5 separate regions of the Homo sapiens genome follow, and all the other regions are linked to region 1. The links are contacts of gene promoters, found by promoter capture Hi-C in blood cells and fetal thymus (Javierre and others, 2016). All regions are on one chromosome and are shown on one strand. The core of a region is centred on a gene start or on the middle of the fragment in contact, and the rest is flanking DNA. Distances in the headings are between cores, read along the strand shown. Region 1 holds the start of SLC5A11 (solute carrier family 5 member 11). Region 2 overlaps RBBP6 (RB binding protein 6, ubiquitin ligase). Region 3 overlaps RBBP6 (RB binding protein 6, ubiquitin ligase). Region 4 has its middle 41 kb from the start of RBBP6. Region 5 holds the start of LCMT1-AS1 (LCMT1 antisense RNA 1).

Region 1 (4,422 bases), core at 1,235-3,734:
ACTGCAACCTCCATCTGCCTCCCAGGTTCAAATGATTCTCCTGCCTCAGCCTCCTGAGTAGCTGGGATTACAGGGGCCCACCACAACACCCAGCTAATTTTTGTATTTTTAGTAGAGACGAGTGCAGGCTGGTCTTGAACTCCTGACCTTGTGATCCACCCACCTTGGCCTCCCAAAGTGCTGCGATTACAGGCATGAGCCACCGCGCTCGGCAAAGTGTATGGTAACTTTATAAGAAATGTCCAAATAGTTCTCTAAAGTGGTTATACAGTTCTTTTTTTTTTTTTTTTTTTTTTTGAATTGAGATCTCATTCTGTTGCCTCGAGTGTAGTGGCACTATCATGGCTCACTGCAGCCTTGAACTCCTGGGCTCAAACGATTCTCCCACCTCAGTCTCCTGAGTAGCTGGGACTACAGGTGCACACTGCTATGTCCATCTAATTCTTCCTATTTTGTGTAGAGATGAGGGTCTCACTGAGTTACCCAGACTGGCCTCTAACTCCTGGCCTCAAGAGATCCTCCTGCCTCAGCTTCCCAAAGCTCTGAGATGATAGCATGAGCCCCTGCACTCCACCTCTCCTATTCTTTATAGCACTGAGGGTAAAAATGAAAAACCTGACAGAGAAACAATCGGAGGTGACAAGCCAAGGGTCGAGCAGGCCACATCTGGCCCTCAAGGATGCGTAATCATGAAACTTTGCAGAACTTCTCTAGAACAATCAGAAGTTCTGACCCCATTGGGCCTGTCTTCCCCCACGTGGAGCTGGGTCGTGGCTGTCCTCTTCAGCTGGGACACATGCTCTCGGGTCAGCCTCAGCTCCACCTGCCCGGCTTCACTCACTACCACGCCTCTTCTGTAGACACCCTGCACATGGCTAAGGCTCCCCAGACATTCCCAAGAAGTCAGGACTGGACCCCAGGTTGGCGAAGCAGTGCACCCTCGGTGGCACCCCACTGCCTTTCCTGGTGCTGTGGCCTCTGCTGCAGATCACAGATTCATGGCCTTCTGTCTGTCCCTCTTCTCCAATCCCAGCTGTTCCTTCTGTAAATCTGTCCCCCAGGGCAGGTCCCTCCCCCAAAGGCCCCATTCATACTGGTGTTGGTCAGTCACCCAGTGTTTGCTCACCCAGGCCACCCTTTATCCAGTCAAGCCACCCTCCACTGCTCCTGCAGGACTCTAGAGCCAGGTGGCCTGGGCTGAAATCTTGCTGTGTCACTTACAACCCGGGTGATCCTGGGCCGATGACTCATCTCCTCTACCTCTGTTACCTCGTCAGTAAGATAGAGATAACAGGACCTAACTTCGAGGGTTGTTGGAAAGACCAAGTGAGTAAAGGCATGTTGTGCCCTTAGAGCCTGGCACGTGTTCATCACTGCTATTATTTCTGGCTACTCGGTGCCAGGACAGGGGCCTCAGCTGAGGGCCCCCCAGAGCCTGGCAGGCCCAGTGAAGGAGTGAGATGGGGAGGCCACGACTCCTCCCCAGTCAGCAGCTGTCCTGTGGCCATGGGGGCCTGGTGAGGCCAGATCTTCAGGTTGTTCTAGAAAAGTGAGTATTCTAGAATTATGTTTCAAGCCTCTTGGTTTGCAAATACTAGTAACTATTTTTAAAATGTTTTGGTATTTGGCCTGGCACAGTGTTTGACCCCTGTAATCCCAGCACTTTGGGAGGCCAAGGTGGGAGGATCACTTAAACCCAGGAGTTGGAGACCAGCCTGGGCAACATAGCAAGATTCTCTCTCTACCAAAAAAATGAAAAAATTAGCTGGGTGTGGTGGTGCACGCCTGTAGTCCCAGCTACTCGGGAGGCTGTGGTGGGAGGATCACTTGAGCCCAGGAGGATGAGCCTGCAGCAAGCTGTGATGCCACCACTGCACTCCAGCCTGGGTGACAGAGTGAGATCCTGTCTCAGAAATAAAAAGTAAATAAAGTTTTGGATGCTTTGAGCATCTGGCAGAAATCTTCGCTATGCCCCGCTGATGTCCTGGGCCCGATGTGGGCGCCTGGCCATGGCTCGGTCACTCCTGACGGTTTTTCAGGGCCTCAGACACCTCTTCTTCTTCTTCTTCTTCTTTTTTTGAGACTGATTTTCGCTCTTGTTGCCCAGGCTGGAGTGCAATGGTGTAATCTCGGCTCACCACAACCTCCGCCTCCCGGATTCAAGTGATTCTCCTGCCTCAGCCTCCCGAGTAGCTGGGACCACAGGCATGCACCACCATACCCGGCTAACTTTGTATTTTTAGTAGAGATGGGGTTTCTCCATGTTGGTCAGGCTGGTCTCGAACTCTCGACTTCAGGCAGACACCTGTTCTTTGCCATGCCTCTGTCTGAAGAGTATATGGAAAGGGGTTGCACAAGCAATGGTTGCTGTTCCTGTTGCTGCCACTGCGGTGAGGGCTGTGGCTGGACGTCCCTCCTGGCACTTTGCCTCTGTCCCCTCCATCCGCCGCCAGCATTTTTCCTCCCCTCCCCTTCCTCCAGCTCGTCCCAAGCCTGCCTGTCCCCAGCGTGGAGGCGGGACAGTGGAAGACTGGGTGAGTGAAGCAGGATGGTGCCTTGGGCTCCAGCGTCTCCCCAACCCCTCCATGCCATGGGTCCCCACGCAGGTGAGGACCCTGGTGGAGGACGGTGTGGGCAGAGCGTGGGACATGTCACCTTCCCCACCTGCTCAGAGTTCAAGGGTCCTGGGCTGGGCCCCGTTCTCTCTTCTGCCCTGGGGAGATCATTCACGCTTCCTTTAATCCCCGCTGCAGCTGAGGCTGGAGTTTGGAGTTTGACCCGCTTGGAGGCTCTCTCAGCAGCGGGCATATAGGAGGAAGGGTCACTGCTGTCTCCGGAAGCTCTTGGCTGCAAAGAGAGAGGATCCCGGGTATCTCCCTCCTTACAACCACCGCCACCTCCTAGTGCCTTAGAAGCCACTGACAGCCCCCAGGGCAGGTGAGCCCTGCATCTGGAATAAGGTAAGACACCCCCTGCCCCCAAACAGGTAGCCACTCTCCAAACTGGGAAGTTGGTCTGGGGACAGGTGCTGGCAGAAGGACTCCAGCTGTCACCTGTGGGGCAGGGGAAGCTCAGCCCTCTCTGCAGAGAAAGCTTGTCATACACCAGGACAATGGAGTGTGTTTGTGGGGTGGGCATGGTGGTATGAAGCCAGCAGCCGGCAGCCAGCAGCACCGTACGTGGGTCCCAGCTCTTCCACTTAACCAAGGTCAGGGACATTGAGCCAAACATTTTGCCTCACCGAGTCTCAGGTTCCTTATCTGTCAAATGGGAATATGAACCTCAGGCTGACCCACCCCACAGGTGTGTTACCCAGAGATAACGAAGGTAAATGTATCCACATAAGCATTAAAAAGCTATAGGAATGTATTTACTACAACTGCAGCTGCTGTTAACTACAAGGCAAATACAAGTCTTCACTGGTACGTGTCAGACACGTGCAGAGAACTTTACGCCTGGATCTCATCTAACTGACACAGAAACCCTGTAAGGTAGGTACAGCACCCCCTAATTCATGGACAGAGTCTAAGGGTCATTAAATAACTTGCTCAAGGTAATACAGATAGTGAGTGGCCAAGCCAAGACTCAATTCCTGTGGCCATGAGCTCAGCCACAATATCAGTGATTTTCTTTTTCTTTCCTTTCTTTCTTTTTCTCTTTCTTTCTTTTTCTTTCTTTTCCTTTCTTTTCTTTGTTCTTTCTTTCTTTCCTTCTTTCTTTTATTTCTTTCCTTATTCCTTTCTTTCCCTTTCTTTCTCCTTCCTTCTTTCCTTCCTTCCCTCCCTCCCACCTCTCTGTTTCTCTTTCTTTTCCCTTTTTTCTTTCTTTCTTTCTTTCTTCTCTCTCTTTTATTATTTATTTCTTCCTTTCTTTCCCTTTCTCCTTCCTTCTTTCCTTCTTTGCCTCCTCTCTCTCTCTGTGTGTGTTTTCTGTTCTCTCTCTCTCTCGTTTCTTTTCTGTCTTTTCTTTCACAGGGTCTCTCTGTGTTGCCCAGGCTGAAATGTAGTACTATCATAGCTCACCAGCATGCCCTGCTAACTTTTTTATTTTTATTTTTTGTACAAATGGGGTCTCCCTGTGTTGCCTTGGCTGGTCTCAATCTCCTGAACTCAAGCGATTCTCCCGCCTCAGCCTTGCAAAGTGCTGGGATTACAGGCATGAGCCACTGCACCCTACCAATCAGTGGTTTTCAAATGGTGTTCTGCTGAATTATTCTGGGCAATAGTTGACAGAAGTGTCCTAGCCCATTGGGCATCCTGCAGATAGGACTTGGAAAAATGCTGTCCCTTTTTTGGGCGGTCACAGCGTGCAAAGGATCTATAGCAAAGGCTCTAAAAATCCCACATTTATTTGTTGTACCAACATTTATTGCATGCCTGTTTTGGGGACACAATGAGAGTGACAGAGACATGGACCTTTCTT
Region 2 (4,422 bases), core at 924-3,423, 300 kb before region 1:
TTTTCGACCCAACAATTGAATGCAGCTTTTTTTTTTTTTTTCCCCTGAAACAGAGTCTCACTCTGTCACCCAGGCTGGAGTGCAGTGGCACCATCTTAGCTCACTGCAACCTCCGCCTCCCTGGTTTGAGCGATTCTCATGCCTCAGCCTCCCAAGTAGCTGGGACTACAGGCATGCGCCACTACACCCAGCTAATTTTTTTTTGTATTTTTAGTAGAGATGGGGTTTTGTCTTGCTGGCCAGGCTGGTCTCGAACTCTTGGCCTCAAGTGATCCACCCACCTGGGTCTCCCAAAGGGCTGGGATTACAGGCATGTGAATGCAACTTTAGACTGGGTAAGTTATAGTTAAAAGAATCCTGTCCGGAAATTTAAGAGTTTTGTGACTTTGTGTAACCAATTTTTTTTTCCTAGCCCAGGAAATAAATGATACGTAATTCAAACCCAGAAAGCCAGGAATGTGTTTTTGCCCAGCACATTTTCTTTTTTATATTTATGTGAACTGCCCTTTATTGGAGAAAGCTTTGATGTTCGGTTTGTTAAGAAAAGGGAGCTTTGAGGGAGAAAATGTGTATTTTATGCAGTCCTCAAATTAAGAGAGAAAGAGATATTGATGGTAGCTACTTAACTAGTTTTATGGGAAATAGTATCCAATGTCACAAGGCAGTTGAGTAGAATGCCATTTGGTTTTAGCACCGATATTCAACATATTTACTAAAGAAAACTATGGTAATCTTTTTATCACAGTTAAGGTCCAGTTTCTTAATTTCATTCTTATAATTTTAAAATCCCTAATCTACCATGTTTCTGTAAAACATTTCCTTACAGTTTTGGAATTATGTGCATGTTTAGGTCCCTTAAATCTTTTTTTTTTTTTTTTTTGGAGACACATCCTCACAGGCTAGAGTATAATGGCACAATTTTGGCTCATTGCAGCTTCAACCTACCAGGCCCAGGTGATCCTCCCACCTCAGCCTCCCAAGTAGCTGGACTACAGCCACACACCACCATGCCTGGCTAATTTATTGTAATTTTTTTTTATTTTATTTTGGTAGAGATGGGGATTTTGCCATGTTGCCCAGGCTGGTCTCCTGAGCCCAAGTGTTCTCCTGCCTTGGCCTCCCAAGGCCATCCCAAAGTGCTGGGATTATAGGCTTGAGCCACTGTGCCTGGCATAGGACCCTTAAATCTTGATAAGACTGAAACGCTTGGGTCAGAATTCCATGGATTTTAGACAAGAATCCTGCTTGTTTCTAGACTGTATTTCAAAATGAATATCAAGTAATCTTTGTTATATATGAGAAACTTTTCTGCACACCGACCCCTAAAAAACAAAACATCCTTCGTTCTGAAATTAAAGTGTGAGAGGTTTGGAAGCTGAATATGAAGTGTTTATAAATGACCCTTGTCACCTTTCTTACTCTCCATTTCTCGGATTCATTCTGTTTTTCATTTCATCCATGCCTTTCATGTCTGGGGTCAAAAAAACTGGCAAGCAGAAAGGGTCTTTTGAAGCCAACAGACTACTTGTTAAGGAGGTATTTTAAATGAAATACCCCCAAAGTGTCTTTATTACCCCTAGAAAGATACTTTGAGGGGTAAGAAATCATTGTAATTCAGGTATTTAAAAAGTCAGTTAGAACATCTGTTTTGAAGGGCATTGAGGCACCTTTTAGTTTGACACAGTACGGTGCTAATCAAATTAATAAGCTGTCTTGGAAAGCTCTTGTGAGTGCATTGAGTTGTTACATATTCAGAAACTTCCTGTCAGGTGTTTGACACAAAGTTTTATTTCTAGAATTAACTTTTAAAAAAATCTAGTCACCCCATGCTCTCAGTTTTTCTGACTCAAAGCTTCCTCGGAATTTGGGGCTATCATGAACTGTCCAAGATAAAGATTATAGTCCTACATTGGCATGCCTAAATCTAGGAAATTGCCTACCTCTAATTGAATGCCTGTGAGATAGTGCCTTCTACTTGAAGTATATAGAAAATAACCCTTGCCTGAACAATTTCATTTCTAACAATACTATTAGCATTATGACTAAAAATAATTAATATACATTAAAAGCCGAATATGCCTACATATGTGGTAAGCGTAATAATCGGAAGAACAGAGATAGTCACTTTGTGCAGAGTAACTTTAAGTGAAGCAAGTAAACTTAATGACAATAAAAAGGCCTGGTTGTGTGATTAAAGGAGATGGATACATTTTTGCATCTCTAGGTAATTTTTCTTTTTGGTAATTTTACAGATTCTTTCTGTAGCAAATCTTTTTACCATAGTTAAGGTCCATTTTCTTAATTTCATTCTTATACAAGTATTGCAAATAGCCCAAGGAGTGTAAAAATAGGATCCATTCTTCTCCCTCTTGGTTTTCCCAGAAGGTGACATCACTGTTTATCCGATGACTGAAGCCAGGAACCCAGGGATTCCTCTGGCCTGATTCCTCTTTCTTCTTCATTTCCTTCATCTCCCCCATATTCGGTCCATCAGCAAGCTTTGTCAATCCTACCTGCAAACATTCTGTCTTTATTTCTCACATCATAACACAGGTCGTCATTATCTCTACCTGGATTTTTTAGCAGCCTGGTTATTAGTCCCCTGGTTTCTACTCTTGTTCTCCTACAGTTTGTGCTCCACATTGGTGCCACAGTAGTCTTTTTTTGAGACAGAGTCTTGCTCTGTCACCAGGCTGGAGTGCAGTGGCGCGATCTCGGCTCACTGCAGCCTCCCAGGTTCATGCCATTCTCCTGCCTCAGCCTCCTGAGTAGCTGGGACTACAGGCGCCCACCACCAAACCTTCCTAATTTTTTTGTATTTTTAGTAGAGATGGGGTTTCACCGTGTTAGCCAGGATGGTCTTAATCTCCTGACCTCGTGATCCGCCCCCCTCAGCCTCCCAAAATGCTGGTATTACAGGCGTGAACCACCGCGCCTGGCCAGTAGTCTTTTTTTCTTTAACAAAAAGCAAATAATCACTTTGCTTAAAATCCTTCAGTGTCTTCCTGTTGCACTTCAAAACAAAATATAAATCAGTGTATGGTCTATACCTTTCTGTCATTCTTTTCTTTTATTTTCTTAGGCTCTTCAAGCCGTTTCGTATCATTTTTCTACATGCTTTTTTTATCCTTTGCCTGAAATAGTCCTCAACCAGTTTTTTTCCTGTATCTGGCTGGGTTCTCAGTCTTTAAGTATCCAGTAGAAGTTCCTCCAAGGGGCTTTCTTGGAATCAACATTCTATCTGAAGTTGTATTCCACTATTCATTCCTTATTAGAAAACCATTTTCTCTTTATTCATAACGTCATAATTTAATTTTTAGTCTATCTTCCTCAGTAATAATTTCTGTGAATGCAGGGATTGTAATACTCAACTAACGTTTAGGGACTAGGAGAGACAGAATATCTTCATTCCGAATAACGGCTTTTTCACCATTCACATGTTCAGCATTTCAGACTAAACTAAAGAATGACGGTGTTACTGAGATTTGGAGTTCCACAAAAGTAGAAGTGCTAGAGCCAAGAACCTGCTGATGATATTGGTTGTCCTTTGAAAAGAAGCCCTCTTAGGGCTTTGGATGTTTGTTCTGACAATATCAGTAATCTAGTTGCAAGGAACTTGTAGTTATTATATTTAAAGTCATTTCCCATGAAATTTATATTTGAAGTTTTCTAATTCTTGGTTACGCACTCAAATCCCCAAATGGAAATTCAATTCTGTCTTTTTATTTACAGAATATACTGATGATAATGCTCTGATTCCTAAGAATTCTTCTGTAATTGTTAGAAGAATTCCTATTGGAGGTGTTAAATCTACAAGCAAGACATATGTTATGTAAGTATCAAATCTCATGTATTTCTCAAAATAGACTTTTTTTAGTTTTTTTAATTTTGTGAGAAAAAACTGTATTTTAGAACTGAACTCATTACTTTAACCTTAATGAATACATCTTCTCAAGACTGTGAGGATAGTAGGTTTCTTTGTTCGTTTGTTTTTGATTTCCTCCCCCAGTTAAATTGACTTAGCCTGTTGTGAGAGGGCCATTATTAGGAAAAATTTTTCTCCATATGGCCAGTATTTACAGATACAAGAAAGTGATATTCACATTATTTCTGTGCCTTTCTTTGACTACTTTTTTTTGTGGGGGTTCCTTCAGTTTTCTTCACTACAAAAATTTGGTGTTGTAGACATCGGTCCTAAATATTTTGACAGCATCAAGAGTATTCAGTAATGCTAACATTTACTCTTTATCAATAAGGGGCTTTGGCTGAGAGGCATAAAGTATATAGGATTTATAATCATGGGCACTGAAATCAGGCTTAGATTTGACTCCATTTACTGCTTCATACCAGTTGTGTGACTTTGGACCTTGGGTAAGTCTCTGTGCCTCAGATTCCTCAAAAATAAAATAGGGACGTGAGTAC
Region 3 (4,422 bases), core at 1,344-3,843, 280 kb before region 1:
CTTTTTTAAACAATAACCTGTTTGTCCTTTTAAATTCTAGAATTGACTTCTGTACCTTCATCAGGGTGACTATACTGAGGTGTTTTTCTTAATATAGACTTTTTGTTTCCTGTATGTTTTAAGTGGTATCCAGAATTTTAAAACTTTTTTGGGCCTTAGATAATTCTGGAAATATTTTTAAGTGGTATCTAAATCTTTTTCCTGGATTGTGAATAGCTTATCCTAATATTTCTAAGTGTATTAACACCTGATTCCTGTAGACAGTTTTTGTTTTTTTTTTTTTTTTTTGAGACAGAGTCTCACTGTCTCCCAGGCTGGAGTGCAGTGGTGTAATCTCGGCTCACTGCATCCTCTGCCTTCTGGCTTCACACAATTCTGCCTCAGCCTCCCAAGTAGCTGGGACTGCAGGTGCCCGCCACCACACCCGGCTAATGTTTTGTATTTTTAGTAGAGACGGGGTTTCACTGTGTTAGCCAGGATGGTCTCGATCTCCTGACCTCGTGATCCGCCCACCTCGGCCTCCCCAAGTGCTGGGATTACAGGCGTGAGCCACCGCGCCCGACATCTGTAGACATATTTATTACCCAGCATTTACCATGCAGTTGTGACTTTTTAAATCACTTATATTAGCACTTAGTTGTTTCCTGCCACTTATCCTAAGTTTGTGCCTTCTTACACAGAAGAAATCAGTGTTACCTGAAAATTTGCTCAAGCCTGCTCTGGCCTTTTTCATTTTTAAAGGTAGTTTTGAAATATACAGTCCTCATACACATGGTTCTGCATCTGCAGATTCAAAACCACAGATCATAAATATTTGGGGGCAAGAAAACAGTAAAAAATAATAGTAAAGACTAATACAGATTTTAAAATAAGAGTATAACAACTATTTACATAGCATTTATATTGCAGCAGGTATTACAAGCAATCTAGAGATTATTTAAAGTATACTGGAGGATGTACATAGTATTATATGCAAATACTATGCCTTTGGGGCAGTTGAGTGACTTGAGCATCTACAGACGTTATCTTCAGAGGGTTCTGGAACCCATCCCCTTTGGATACCTGTAAATCTTTATTTTTTGACCTCTTCAGTGAAGACCAAGGTCAAGAAGAGGTTGCTAAAGACTTGTTTCAGATTATATCTTAGATTTAACATACCACTTGGTATTACTGGAGTTTTACTACATTGAAGCTTAATCTTCGTATCTGTAATTTAGTGTTGCTCCCACGTACTGTGCTGTAGGTCTCTCATTTCCTTGCCTGAATAAAAACCCCAAGTTAGCCATGTAAAATTTTTGTCTTTCTAGACTATCTTATATTTCTCTTTTGTTTTCTACAATATTCCAGTTACTAGCTAAACAAAGAATAGTCTTTGAGAAAGAGTGCTTTTGCTCTCAATTCAGACATTTGTTTAAAAAAAAAAAAAGATGGGGTGGGGGATCCTTGCTATTTTGCCCCAGGCTAGCCTTGAACTTCTAGGCTCAAGTGATTCTCCTGTCCCAGCCTCCCCAGGAGTGGGGATTACAGGCACATGCCAGCACACCCAGCTGTGACTTCTTTTTAGCGTAGCATAGGTCATATAGAAAAGAGCAGAGGAGTACTGTAAGATGAGAGATTTTACTTAAGTTTCTTAATCTAAGAAATGATTAGCACGACATGCTTGGAAAACAGTAATGTAACTGAACAAATGTGGACCATCCTTTTAATTCATTTCGTAAACACTTTGAGTTCCTACTATGCTTTTATTAATATTTGAAATCTTATACATAGGTATAAGAACAGCACTCCTGGAATCAGATGAGCACACATGTCCGACGTGTCATCAAAATGATGTTTCTCCTGATGCTTTAATTGCCAATAAATTTTTACGACAGGTAACTGTCTGTATCCATTTTATGAAAAAATTCTTTTTAACTGATTTAACTGTACTTCAGTGAATACTGCATAACATTTTTCTGCATTATTATGCTTGGTATCTGTAGGCTGTAAATAACTTCAAAAATGAAACTGGCTATACAAAAAGACTACGAAAACAGTTACCTCCTCCACCACCCCCAATACCACCTCCGAGACCACTGATTCAGAGGAACCTACAACCTCTGATGAGATCTCCGATATCAAGACAACAAGATCCTCTTATGATTCCAGTGACATCTTCATCAACTCACCCAGCTCCGTCTATATCTTCATTAACTTCTAATCAGTCTTCCTTGGCCCCTCCTGTGTCTGGAAATCCGTCTTCTGCTCCAGCTCCTGTACCTGATATAACTGCAACAGTATCCATATCAGTTCATTCAGAAAAATCAGATGGACCTTTTCGGTAAGCCTGTGTGTTTTTCACTGTTAGAAACCAAATGAGGTCAATGATGTAGTGTTTTGTTGTTGGTTATCACTTTTAACAGCTTTCTTAGTGGACCACTGTGCTCAGTAATGTGGGATGACTTGTAAGAAGTGACTTAGTCTTATTGGGGGAAGAGGAAAACAAACGTGATTGATTTGGCAAATGAGGATTAAGCATCCTGAGGTCAAATACTACACAGGTTGCCAACCAGCCCCTATTAAACGTTGAATGTTCCATATACCATAACAGCTCTGAACTTAACAGAGGTGGGAGAATTCACTTGTGATCATAATGATAGTTTTGGATAGGAGTAGTTTTGAGTAGAACTAAGAACAGTTTAGATAGGTAGAGAAGAGGGGGTAAAAACACAGGTAAGTAGAGAAGTCAGGAATAGTGATTGTTTTGGAGCATAATTATTATGTAGGAGAATAGTGAAAACTCACAGCCTACCACTTCAGAAATGAGACTTTTGTCCATGTAGTTTAATGTCTCATAAATTCTTTAAAAAAAAAAAAAAAAGGTGTAAGAGGCCCATTTCAGACACACTGAAGCAAAATCTTTAGGATGAGACCTTTACATTTACATTTAAGAAATTCCACTGATCTGGTGGAATTTATTTGGTTGATAGTGGAAATAGGCCCAGAGAGTTCTATGGCTGACCCAAGATTATCCTTTCAGTTTAGTGGTAGAACTAGAGCTAAAACTTAACTCTTAATCCTAGGGGGATTTTTGTCTTCATAGGCCAGACTTTGATTTTAAGTTTTACTATTCTTGCAACTGATTTCTGTCATAACTGTAGTATCTTCTTAAGGAGGTCCTTCATTTTACTTTTCCACTTACTACATATAGAGAACTCTTCAAAGTTTCAGCCTTCTCTCACTTTCCTCAGAAGTATTCATCATCTTTGACTTAACTCATCTTAACTGCAGGTGATGGGTAAACAGCAGCAAACTTTTTTACTCTTAATTGTCCATTTCTGATAATTTTTAATGTATTATAATTTATGTTTTTTAAAGGGATTCTGATAATAAAATATTGCCAGCTGCAGCTCTTGCATCAGAGCACTCAAAGGGAACCTCCTCAATTGCAATTACCGCTCTTATGGAAGAGAAGGTAAATTTTACTGGTGCTTTAATTTGGGATTTTTTTTACAGCAGGGTTTTGTTTTTCTGGCTTTGTTCTTACCTCTTTTTTTTTTTTTTTTTTAACTATTTCTGTTTATTTGTGGTTGTTTCTAAAGGGTTACCAGGTGCCTGTTCTTGGAACCCCATCTTTGCTTGGACAGTCATTATTGCATGGACAGTTGATCCCCACAACTGGTGAGTAAGATCACTTTGGTTTAGACCTTTTTCCCTTTAAAAAATAATTTTAGCTTGATTTAATGTGCAATTTTGTATTTACCTACTGCTTTTATTTTTTGTTTCTAGGTCCAGTAAGAATAAATACTGCTCGTCCAGGTGGTGGTCGACCAGGCTGGGAACAGTGAGTAGATGTTTACAATAATCTTCAGATGATTGCCTGCAAACTAGATAATGGAAGGTCCAAACTAGGCAAACTAGATAATGGAAGGTCCAAACTAGGCAGCGGGTCGCTGCTCTTTATTGTAAACTTTCATGTGCCAGATTAACATTTTTTATGTAAAATGTCAAAATTCAAGCTTATATGAGGGTTTTTTTTAAATGAGCAAATCTTTTCTAAAATACAAAATTTTAAAAGTTTTTTTCTACTTTCATATCCAACAAATGGGGATCTTGACAGGACTTCAGTTTAATGAATAGATAAGAATTACTTGAAAAGTTATTTTAAATATGGTGGCAGTTATTTTCCTAGTAGGTTTAACTTTTTCTACCCTTAATTTGGATGATCAAAGTTTGATTTGAGTACATAAATACATAATAAGATTAACGTCTACCAAACAAAAATTTTTTGTCTGAAATCGAGTTGTTCTTGCCACCCTAAAATACAAAGAACTTTGATTTTCTCTGTGGGATATTTTATGGCATTAAAAATCAGCAGACTTACTTAATGTATTTTTAGTTATATAATTATTTCTGTTTATATAATCCGATTGAAAATTGATA
Region 4 (4,422 bases), core at 500-2,999, 270 kb before region 1:
GTAATAGTTTATTCATCCCAGTCTGCGCAAGTGTCTCCGTGTACTTGTCCACTTTCCCTGTCTTTCAGCGCCTTTAATGAATGCTGTTCTTACTGTATAAAGCTAGACATAGAACAAAACCTCTGATTTGAAACATGTCCTTTCTGAGAGTTTTTATACCACTGCTCATTTACTTTAGCTTCAGCAGTTGTCTTATTTTTAACTAGAAAAAAGCCTCCTATATATAGTATGTATATATATACGTATGTATATGCGTGTATATATAAAATATAGAGAGCGAGCGTGTACCCTGCATTTTCTTTATGTCATAAACACATCCTTTGACATTAAATTTTTCCACAAACATTTTTAATTTTGAGAATTGGAATGGTCAGGAAAGAATAGACTTAAGGTCACCTACTTAAATCCTGGAGAAAGTGTACCATGAAGCTGCTGTATGTGAATAACTTCAGCATACGGATCTGAAAGAAATAGGATTAATAGGAACATTCAAAGACTTCAGGCAAATTCTTTCAGTATGGATCTAAAGTATAAACAGCTTATCAAGGCTCCTCTTTGATAAAAGCCTTTGAGATTATTTTTAGGATCATGTTAAAAGGACTTTTTAAAAATAACTATTGCTAATTCCTTTATGCACTTTACCTTTTATTAAATTTAATGAAGGGTGAACAGTGATCTCATATTAAAGCCAACACCAGCGTGAATCTTGCTTTTCCACTTTGCTTGAAATGTGGCTCTTTTGTAATTTACTATGAAGTTGGTTTGGCCAGTGTGAATGTTTTCAATTTAGGTTTCTATTTTTAAAGTCTCTGTGGTAAGATTTTCATATGAGAATGGACATACATTTAGAATTTAAAATCTTCTTTGGTAGAAACAACTGGAACCTTAATAATTTTTGGCGGGGTTGGGGGGGTTGTTTTTTTTTTTTGTTTAGAAACAGAGTCTCTCTCTCTCTCTGTTGCCCAGGCTGGAGTGCAGTGGCACAATCATAGCTCACTGCTTCCCCAACCTCCTGGACTCAAGCAATCTTCCCACCTCAGCCTTATGAGTAGCTGAAACTACAGGTGTGTGCCACCACACCTGGCTAATTAAAAATAATTTTTTTTTTTTTTTGTAGAGATAGGTCTTGCTGTGTTGCCCAGGCTGGTCTCAAACTCTTGGCCTCAAGAAATCCTCCTGCCTGGGCCTCCCAAAGTGCTGGGGTTACAGGGATAAGCCACCACACCTGGCCCATTAACAAAATTTTGATAATTGTTAAAATATGTTTTTACCTAGCTTAATGATATATAAAGCTGGTAGACTGATTTCTTTTTGTATCCTAAAAACTAAAACCAATAAACACAAATATGAAAAATGAAGCCAGGGAAAACTGTATTAGTGCTAGAAACTCAGGAAAAGACAGAAGGGGCAGACATAGCTAAAAATATGGCATTTCTGCCATAGCACCACATCTTAAAAGTTTTTTGTTGTTAATGGAGAGAAGGCGAAATAAAGACAACTGACAGTTCTCTCCTTGAGAAGGCAGATGGCCTCTTGGAAAGCTTGAATAGAAGATCTTGGGTATTAGGAACACACCATCATCTGAAGAAACAGGGATGGGCCATGGAGCAAATGAAGTTAATTTCCTTTGAAGTCACTTTGAATATGATGAAAATTGCACAAAGGAAACCTGAAGCGTAGGCTACCATGTTGACGGGGATGGAAGAAGATTCTGTCCAGAGACAGATTTGTTATAGCTGGTCTTGTTGCCAGGAAGGAGGCCGGATCACGCAGCCCTCATTCCCCTGGCTATTATGGGGGCTGAAGGGGGAAAATATGCAATTTTCAAAACATTATGGCACTGGTGCCAGAAGAGGCAGACAAGTCAGTGGAATTGAATACAACACCATAAATTGGCCCAAATATAATACACAACAGTTTGAGCATAAGTAAATGTGAAAAAGGATAGGTTTTTCAATAAGCTTTGAGTGAACTGGTTAACCACTTGGAGAAAAAAAAATCACATCTTAAAATTCTAGACTAAATATTGTTTATCCAAAATTTTATATATTTAGGATTTAAAATATTCTTTTGTATAAATTTTGGTACCAAAATAAAATGTTGATAATTGTGTGTTTTGACCTATCATATTACATTCCTGGATTATATTCTTCCCATCTTCTAGGATGACCATTTTTTGATAGGTTAAGAGTTTATTATTTCAACTGGCCAGTCAACTGGAAGCCCAGGAGCTTCCCCGATATTTTTGATAATGGTTATATGAGATCTGGTTTATCCTGATTTGCTCCTTTTTAATTTTCTGATGTCTCTTGTGCTGATTTTTCTCTTCAGAGCTTCTCATTATGGTACAGTCTCAATCTTTATACATTTTGTGACATTTCTGCCTATTTTCTGAGAACACATCACATCCTCTCATCTTCCTGTGCACACCATCGTCCCTTCTTTTCTGTTCTACTTCATAGTTTCTTCATCTCTGAAACTGAAATTAGCCATTATTTTTCTGAACCAAGGATGAATTATGCCATTAGAGGGCAGAAGAAGCTGCTTGTTCTTTAAACTAGCAACTGTTTCCCCCTCTGCAATTTTTTAAAATTACAATCTCAATTATTACACAAATAAACATCTGAAAATTTTAAATGCCACTAGCAGCCGGGTGCGGTGGCTCATGCCTGTAATCCTAGCACTTTGAGAGGCTGAGGCGGGTGGATCACTTGAGGCCAGGAGTTCAAGACGAGCCTGGCCAACATGGTGAAACCCCATCTCTACTAAAAATACAAAAAAAAAAAAAAAAAAAAAATTAGATGGGCATGGTGGTGCACACCTGTAATCTCAGCTACTAGGGAGGCTGAGAATCACTCCAACCCCGGAGCTGGAGATTGCGGTGAGCCACTGCACTCCAGCTTGGGTGACATAGTGCGACCCTGTCAAAAAAAAAAAAAAAGCCACTAACAATAAAACAGAAATGCCAACAAAACAAAATTCTGGTGCCTTCAGGCATTTAGAGTTACCTTTAAGTCCAAAACCAGTGTGATTCTCCATCTTCCCCCTCCCCCCACCGATATTGACTTTTCTACCAGGATATGTCTGTGGTAGTTAGCATTTTCATTAAATTTGCCCAGATCATAATACATTCTCAATTTTGCAGGCTTTAAGAATTTAATTTTTCTCACAAAGTTGTACATTGTTTAAAAAGTCATAAAGTTCTTCAGGACTTACAACAGGCCGGGTGTGATGGCTCACGCCTGTAATCCCAGCACTCTGGAAGTCGCGGTGGGCAGATCATCTGAGGTCAGAAGTTCAAGACCAGCCTGGCCATGGTGAAACCCCGTCTCTACTAAAAATACAAAAAATTAGCCGAGCATGGTGGTGCACGCCTGTAATCCCAGCTACTCAGGAGGCTGAGGCAGGAGAATCACTTGAACCCGGGAGGCGGAGGTTGCAGTGAGCCAAGATCACACCATTGCACTCCAGCCTGAGCAACAAGAGCGAAACTCCATCTCAAAAAAAAAAAAAAAAAAAAAGACTTACAACAAAAACTTCATTCTCCTACTCTAATTAATTATATGCTGACTAATTCTTTACAGGCCATTTCAACTCTGCTAGTTCTTTCTTTAAAAAAGAAAAGAAGAATGTTATATGTAAATAACACACTCCTCCTATTACTTGATTTTTCAGTCTCAAGTATGAGCCACAATTGACTTTAGCAACACCCACACACATACACCTCTACCCTCTCCCACCCTCTCAATAAAAGTTTTACCATTTGGATTAAATAAAAATGGTGGTATACATTATTATATATCTATATAAACAGTTCCACATTGAGTCACTTGGTATAGTAGGATTGCTTTCATGTAAAATGTTGTTTTTCCTGGAATTAATATCAACTCCCGTTTCAAAAGTTTGATTTTCTATGGCTCACTGGAAACAAACCTCCTCCCAGGATATTCAAATAAGTGTTCATCAGTTTTACCCTTTTTCTTGGGATATTCCCCTCCAGAACCTTCTTTCTACCTATCTAATAAAAATTGGGGCCAGGCCCAGTGGCTCATGCCTATAATCCCAGCACTTTGGGAGGCCGAGGTGGGAGGATCAATTGAGGTCAGGAGTTTGAGACCAGCCTGGCCAGCATGGTGGAACCCTGTCTCTACCAATAATACAAAAATTAGCCAGACGTGGTGGCACGCACCTTGTAATCCCAGCTACTCAGGAGGCTGAGGCTGGAGAATTGCTTGAACCTGCGAGGTGGAGGTTGCAGTGAGCAGAGATCACACCACTGCACTCCAGCCTGGGTGACAAGAATGAGAGAATCCATCTCGAAAAAAAAAAAAATGGCTGGGCACAGTGGCTCATGCCTATAACCCCAGCACTTTGAGAGGCCAACATGGGCCGATCAGTTGAGGTCAGATTGAGACTATCCTG
Region 5 (4,228 bases), core at 402-2,901, 260 kb after region 1:
CCCGTGGGTGGCCATCCTCCTCCCCACGGGAGTGCCAGGCAATCTCCCCAGTGCTGGGGTCCTCTCCTGGTAAGTTCATTTTGTTTAGGGTCCAGCTGGGGCCATTGAACCCCTTGACCAAATATGCAAGCAACACTGCGAAGCAAAGCCCAGGGTTGTCAGTTTGGGGTTTTCCATCGAGAGAGAAGTTGAACAACAAATGCCATTCCCTGTCCATTTTATTTTTTTCATCATCAGTGACTAGGCCACTGACTGCCAGGGATGTGCATTTCTTAGGGGTCAGAAGAACAGAGAGCAGCAGCAGCGCAACAGTGCCACAGGAAACATCACTACCCTTGCTAGAACAATTACTGTTAGGACACAGGCAGGGAGCCATTCCTAAATCTTCCTGGGGTGATGGGTGATGGTCTCCTTCCTTGCCACAAACAACATAAAGGATTGTTCCCATGACTGTGCTGGGGGCACACTTTCCTAACAGTGTCTCTATGGCTGTCCCAAGCAGCTAGTGATGGTCACAAGGCTAGACGCAGTGACCAAAGAGTTCTAATCTGAACATCAGTGAGTAGAACTCAAGCACCCACTGGTTAGGATGTTGTGTTGCTGCTGCCCCCAGGTGGGAGCCTCAGAGACCACGTGGCGGACACACAGGCCACACCTGATGGCACCTACCAAGTTCAAGTGTGGCAAAAAAGAGAGCTCTGCTAATAAACTGAGCAACTTCCATTCAACTCCTGGGATTCATTCTGATTGGAACAACCTGGTTAGCCCTTCCCCCAATCCCCACCACCCTCTGAAGCATGACAAGGTGATTTTGGGTGCCAATTGGCCAGACCTTGGCAAGTTTCCACCCCTAGAGTCAGGCAAGGAGCCTTGCTTTTTTTTCTTTTTCTTTTTCTTTTTTTCGAGACAGACTTTCGCTCTTGTTGCCTAGGTTGGAGTGCAGTGGCACGATCTCGGCTCACTGCAACCTCTGCCTCCTGGGTTTAAGCGATTCTTCTGCCTCAGCCTCCTGAGTAGCTGGGACTACAGGCGCGCACCACCATGCCCAGCCATTTTTTGTGTTTTTAGTAGAGATGGAGTTTCACCATGTTGGCCAGGCTGGTCTTGAACTCCTGACCTCATGATCCACCCGCCTCGGCCTCCCAAATCCCGCCTCGGTGACTGGGATTACAGGTGTGAGCCACCACGCCTGGCCAGGAGAGAAGCTTAGTTTTCCATAAGAAGCTGTAGCTTTTTTTTTTTTTTTTTGGAGACAGTTTCGCTCTTGTTGCCCAGGCTGGAGTACAATAGCGCAATCTCGGCTCACCACAACCCCTGCCTTCAGGGTTCAGGCAATTCTCCTGCCTCAGCCTCCGGAGTAGCTGGGATTACAGGCATGCGCCATCATGCCTGGCTAATTTTTATTTTTAGTAGAGATGGGGTTTCACCATGTTGGTCAGGCTGGTCTCGAACTTCTGACCTCAGGTGATCCACTTGCCCCGGCCTCCCAAAGTACTGGGATTACAGGCATGAGCCACCATGCCAGCTTTTTGTTTGTTTTTTGAGACGGAGTTTTGCTCTTGTCCCCTAAGCTGGAGTTCAATGGCACGATCTCAGCTCACTGCAACCTCCACCTCCCGGGTTCAAGTGATTCTCCTGCCTCAACCTCCCTAGTAGCTGAGATTATAGGCGCCTGCCACCATGCCTGGCTAATTTTTGTATTTTTAGTAGAGACGAGGTTTCACCATGTTGGCCAGGCTGATCTCAAACTCTTGACCTCAGGTGATCCACCCACCTCGGACTCCCAAAGTGCTGGGATTACAGGTGTGAGCCACCGCGCCCAGCCCACTCTAGCTATTTTTTATAGAAGAAAGAGATACTGGAGAGCCAAAGCAACAATTGTCCATTGTAGCCTTTTGGGGAGAGATTCCATGGTGAATGCCTAACTTTTGGCCCACAATATTAATGTCCAAGAGCTTTTACACTTCCACAACTCTTCTCCTGACTTTGTCAAAAGATGCAGTCTAGTTGGCAGTGAACTTTCTCTGGCTGGGATATGGCTCAAAGACTACCCCAGCATTGTCTCTTGCATTAAGGTATCATTTAGCCTGAGATGGCTAAGCTTGCAATCTCCAGACTCCACGCTGTCATAAACTTTCAGATCCTCAACCAGGAACTTACATGGAATGAGCTGGCCCTGGAGGTCAGCTGGAAGATGGCCAAATTCCTCTGAATCACCAGCTATTTTGAATCAAAGGCTCATCCAACAACAAAAGTGTATAAACCCATCTGCCTCCGCCTTCTTCCAGTCACCCCCAGTCTCACTGTCCAGACCTGTGGGATTAACACCGTATAGTACTTGCTGTTAACACTTACTATCCACTAACACCCGTGGAATGTGGACACTGCTAAGCTGGGAGATGATGCTTGTGCAATAGTTTGTATTACCCTTTTGGCAAAGGACCACTCCAAGAAAATGGTGTATTTCATCCCATCAGCATTCCCCCTGGCAAAGCTCTCCACCCTTAGTCATTCCCCTCTTGTCATTTCTACTGTGGCTATCAATGAGATCTTGTGCCTCCATTAGAATACTGAGCTAGCATTTGATATTTGACCTCACTCCAAGGTGTGTATTCTGGGTTTCTGTTGTTGATTTTCTTTTTAAAAAAATGAGTGCAATTCAAAGTTCTTAAAGTATATCTGTTTCCTGCTTCCAACAACTGACAGATAACAAAATGGAATATACAAAGACATTTTTAATTTATAATGTATATTAAACATTATTATACATATACAACTTACAAGGGTTGCTTCTGGCTGGATTCTCTGCCAATCGCCCGAACACTGAGGATTCTGCTAGTTGTTCTGCCCTGAGTTAATTATAGCTATAAAATTTCATCACCAGCAAGAAACCAGGCGACTTCCCCAGTACATCTTGAATTTATACATATATTTTGTACTAGATTTAGTACAAAATAAATCCAAAACATCTTGAATATGCCTCATAATGAAACAGACACACGTGAACCCACTCCCACGTGAGAAACTGAGGATGTGTCTATGTGCTCCTTCCCTGCCTCTCCCTCCCCCTCTTGTGTGCTACCCTCCCGGCTCCCTAAAGATCACCAATATCCTGATTCTTTTTTATTTTTTTTTCTCATGTCTTGCCTTCTCTGTACAGTATTTTACCATATATGTACGTTTCTCTAAACAACATTAGTTTTACTTGGTTTGAACTTTACAAAAGTGTTGTTAGACTTCCTTCTTTCACTGAACATCGTGTTTCTGAGATTCAGCCATTGATGCTGCTACCTGGTAGCTCTAGTTCATTTATGATCGCTGCTACATGGCTTCCTATTGTATTACTTTTCCACACACTACTTCCCTCACTACATTTCTTTTCTTTCTTTCTTTTATTTATTTGTTTATTTATTTTTTTGAGACGGAGTCTCGCTCTGTCGCTCAGGACGGAATGCAGTGGCGCCACATGGGCTTACTGCAACCTCCGCCTCCCGGGTTCAAGCGATTCTCCTGCCTCAGCCTCCTGAGTAGCCAGGACTAAGGCGGCCGCCACCACGCCCGGCTAATTTTTGTACTTTTAGTAACAACGGTGTTTCACCATGTTGGCCAGGCTGGTCTCGAACTCCTGACCTCAGGTGATCGGCCCGCCTCGGCTTCCCACAGTGGTGGGATTACAGGAGTGAGCCACTACGCCCGCCCCCCTCACTACATTTCGAAGGCAATTTTGGGGGCAAAGCCCTCAGCACAGTCGCTGGCAGAGTCAGCACACAACAAAATTTTGTAAAATTGAATGACACTGAGCCCGGACTGAATGTAACAACTTACACATGTTGCTTCTGGCTGGATTCTCTGCCCTTTGCCCGAACGCTGAGGATTCTGCTAGCTGTTCCGCCCTGAGTTAATTATAGCTATAAAATTTCGCGACCAGCAAGCAGAAACCGGGCGACTTCTCCAGACACCTAAGACTACGCTTCCCAGAAAGGATTGCGATACTCTCCTACTGTTTAGTTTCTTTTTCCTATCGTCAAATTTCCGGGTTATGTGGGCGGTGCCAAAATAATTATCCAATGAGCAACTTCGTAGGCTGAGCGGGCAGGAGAATTGCTCAATGAGCGACTCGGAAGAGGAGCCAATAAGCGGAGAGGTTGCTGGGGTAGCCGGCGTGGGCGGCGTCACTGAGCCGCGCCAGCTGAGCCAGGTAGGGCCCTACCCTCTTCTGTTGCTTTCT

What was found. The method cuts DNA at HindIII sites, captures the fragments that hold promoters and counts their contacts. A CHiCAGO score of 5 or more calls a contact.
Region 2: a contact is called between a fragment that was not itself captured here and the fragment with the promoter of SLC5A11 in region 1, in 1 of 17 cell types (endothelial precursors). The highest score is 5.6, in endothelial precursors.
Region 3: a contact is called between a fragment that was not itself captured here and the fragment with the promoter of SLC5A11 in region 1, in 1 of 17 cell types (endothelial precursors). The highest score is 5.0, in endothelial precursors.
Region 4: a contact is called between a fragment that was not itself captured here and the fragment with the promoter of SLC5A11 in region 1, in 1 of 17 cell types (endothelial precursors). The highest score is 6.8, in endothelial precursors.
Region 5: a fragment that was not itself captured here is called in contact with the fragment with the promoter of SLC5A11 in region 1 in 1 of 17 cell types (endothelial precursors); the score reaches 5.0 in endothelial precursors.

The regions. Positions count from the first base shown.
Region 1 is chr16:24,843,479-24,847,900 of GRCh38, forward strand. SLC5A11 (solute carrier family 5 member 11) reads left to right here and starts at 2,485. Exons shown (of 17, transcript NM_001352248.3): 1 at 2,485-2,534; 2 at 2,754-2,960. The HindIII fragment of the contact is 4,984 bases long and covers 1-3,091 here.
Region 2 is chr16:24,542,431-24,546,852 of GRCh38, forward strand. RBBP6 (RB binding protein 6, ubiquitin ligase) reads left to right here. Exons shown (of 18, transcript NM_006910.5): 2 at 3,733-3,832. Among named protein-coding and RNA genes, the nearest start is that of RBBP6, 5.1 kb to the left of the region's middle. The HindIII fragment of the contact is 646 bases long and covers 1,851-2,496 here.
Region 3 is chr16:24,559,842-24,564,263 of GRCh38, forward strand. RBBP6 (RB binding protein 6, ubiquitin ligase) reads left to right here. Exons shown (of 18, transcript NM_006910.5): 9 at 1,771-1,874; 10 at 1,983-2,320; 11 at 3,358-3,454; 12 at 3,582-3,660; 13 at 3,769-3,823. Among named protein-coding and RNA genes, the nearest start is that of RBBP6, 22 kb to the left of the region's middle. The HindIII fragment of the contact is 2,806 bases long and covers 1,191-3,996 here.
Region 4 is chr16:24,578,326-24,582,747 of GRCh38, forward strand. No RefSeq gene overlaps it. Among named protein-coding and RNA genes, the nearest start is that of RBBP6, 41 kb to the left of the region's middle. The HindIII fragment of the contact is 420 bases long and covers 1,540-1,959 here.
Region 5 is chr16:25,107,571-25,111,798 of GRCh38, forward strand. LCMT1-AS1 (LCMT1 antisense RNA 1) reads right to left here and starts at 3,985. Exons shown (of 3, transcript NR_120306.1): 1 at 3,826-3,985. It overlaps LCMT1 (leucine carboxyl methyltransferase 1), which reads left to right and starts at 4,172. Exons shown (of 11, transcript NM_016309.3): 1 at 4,172-4,228. RefSeq lists enhancers at 3,595-4,122, 3,900-4,228. The HindIII fragment of the contact is 896 bases long and covers 1,204-2,099 here.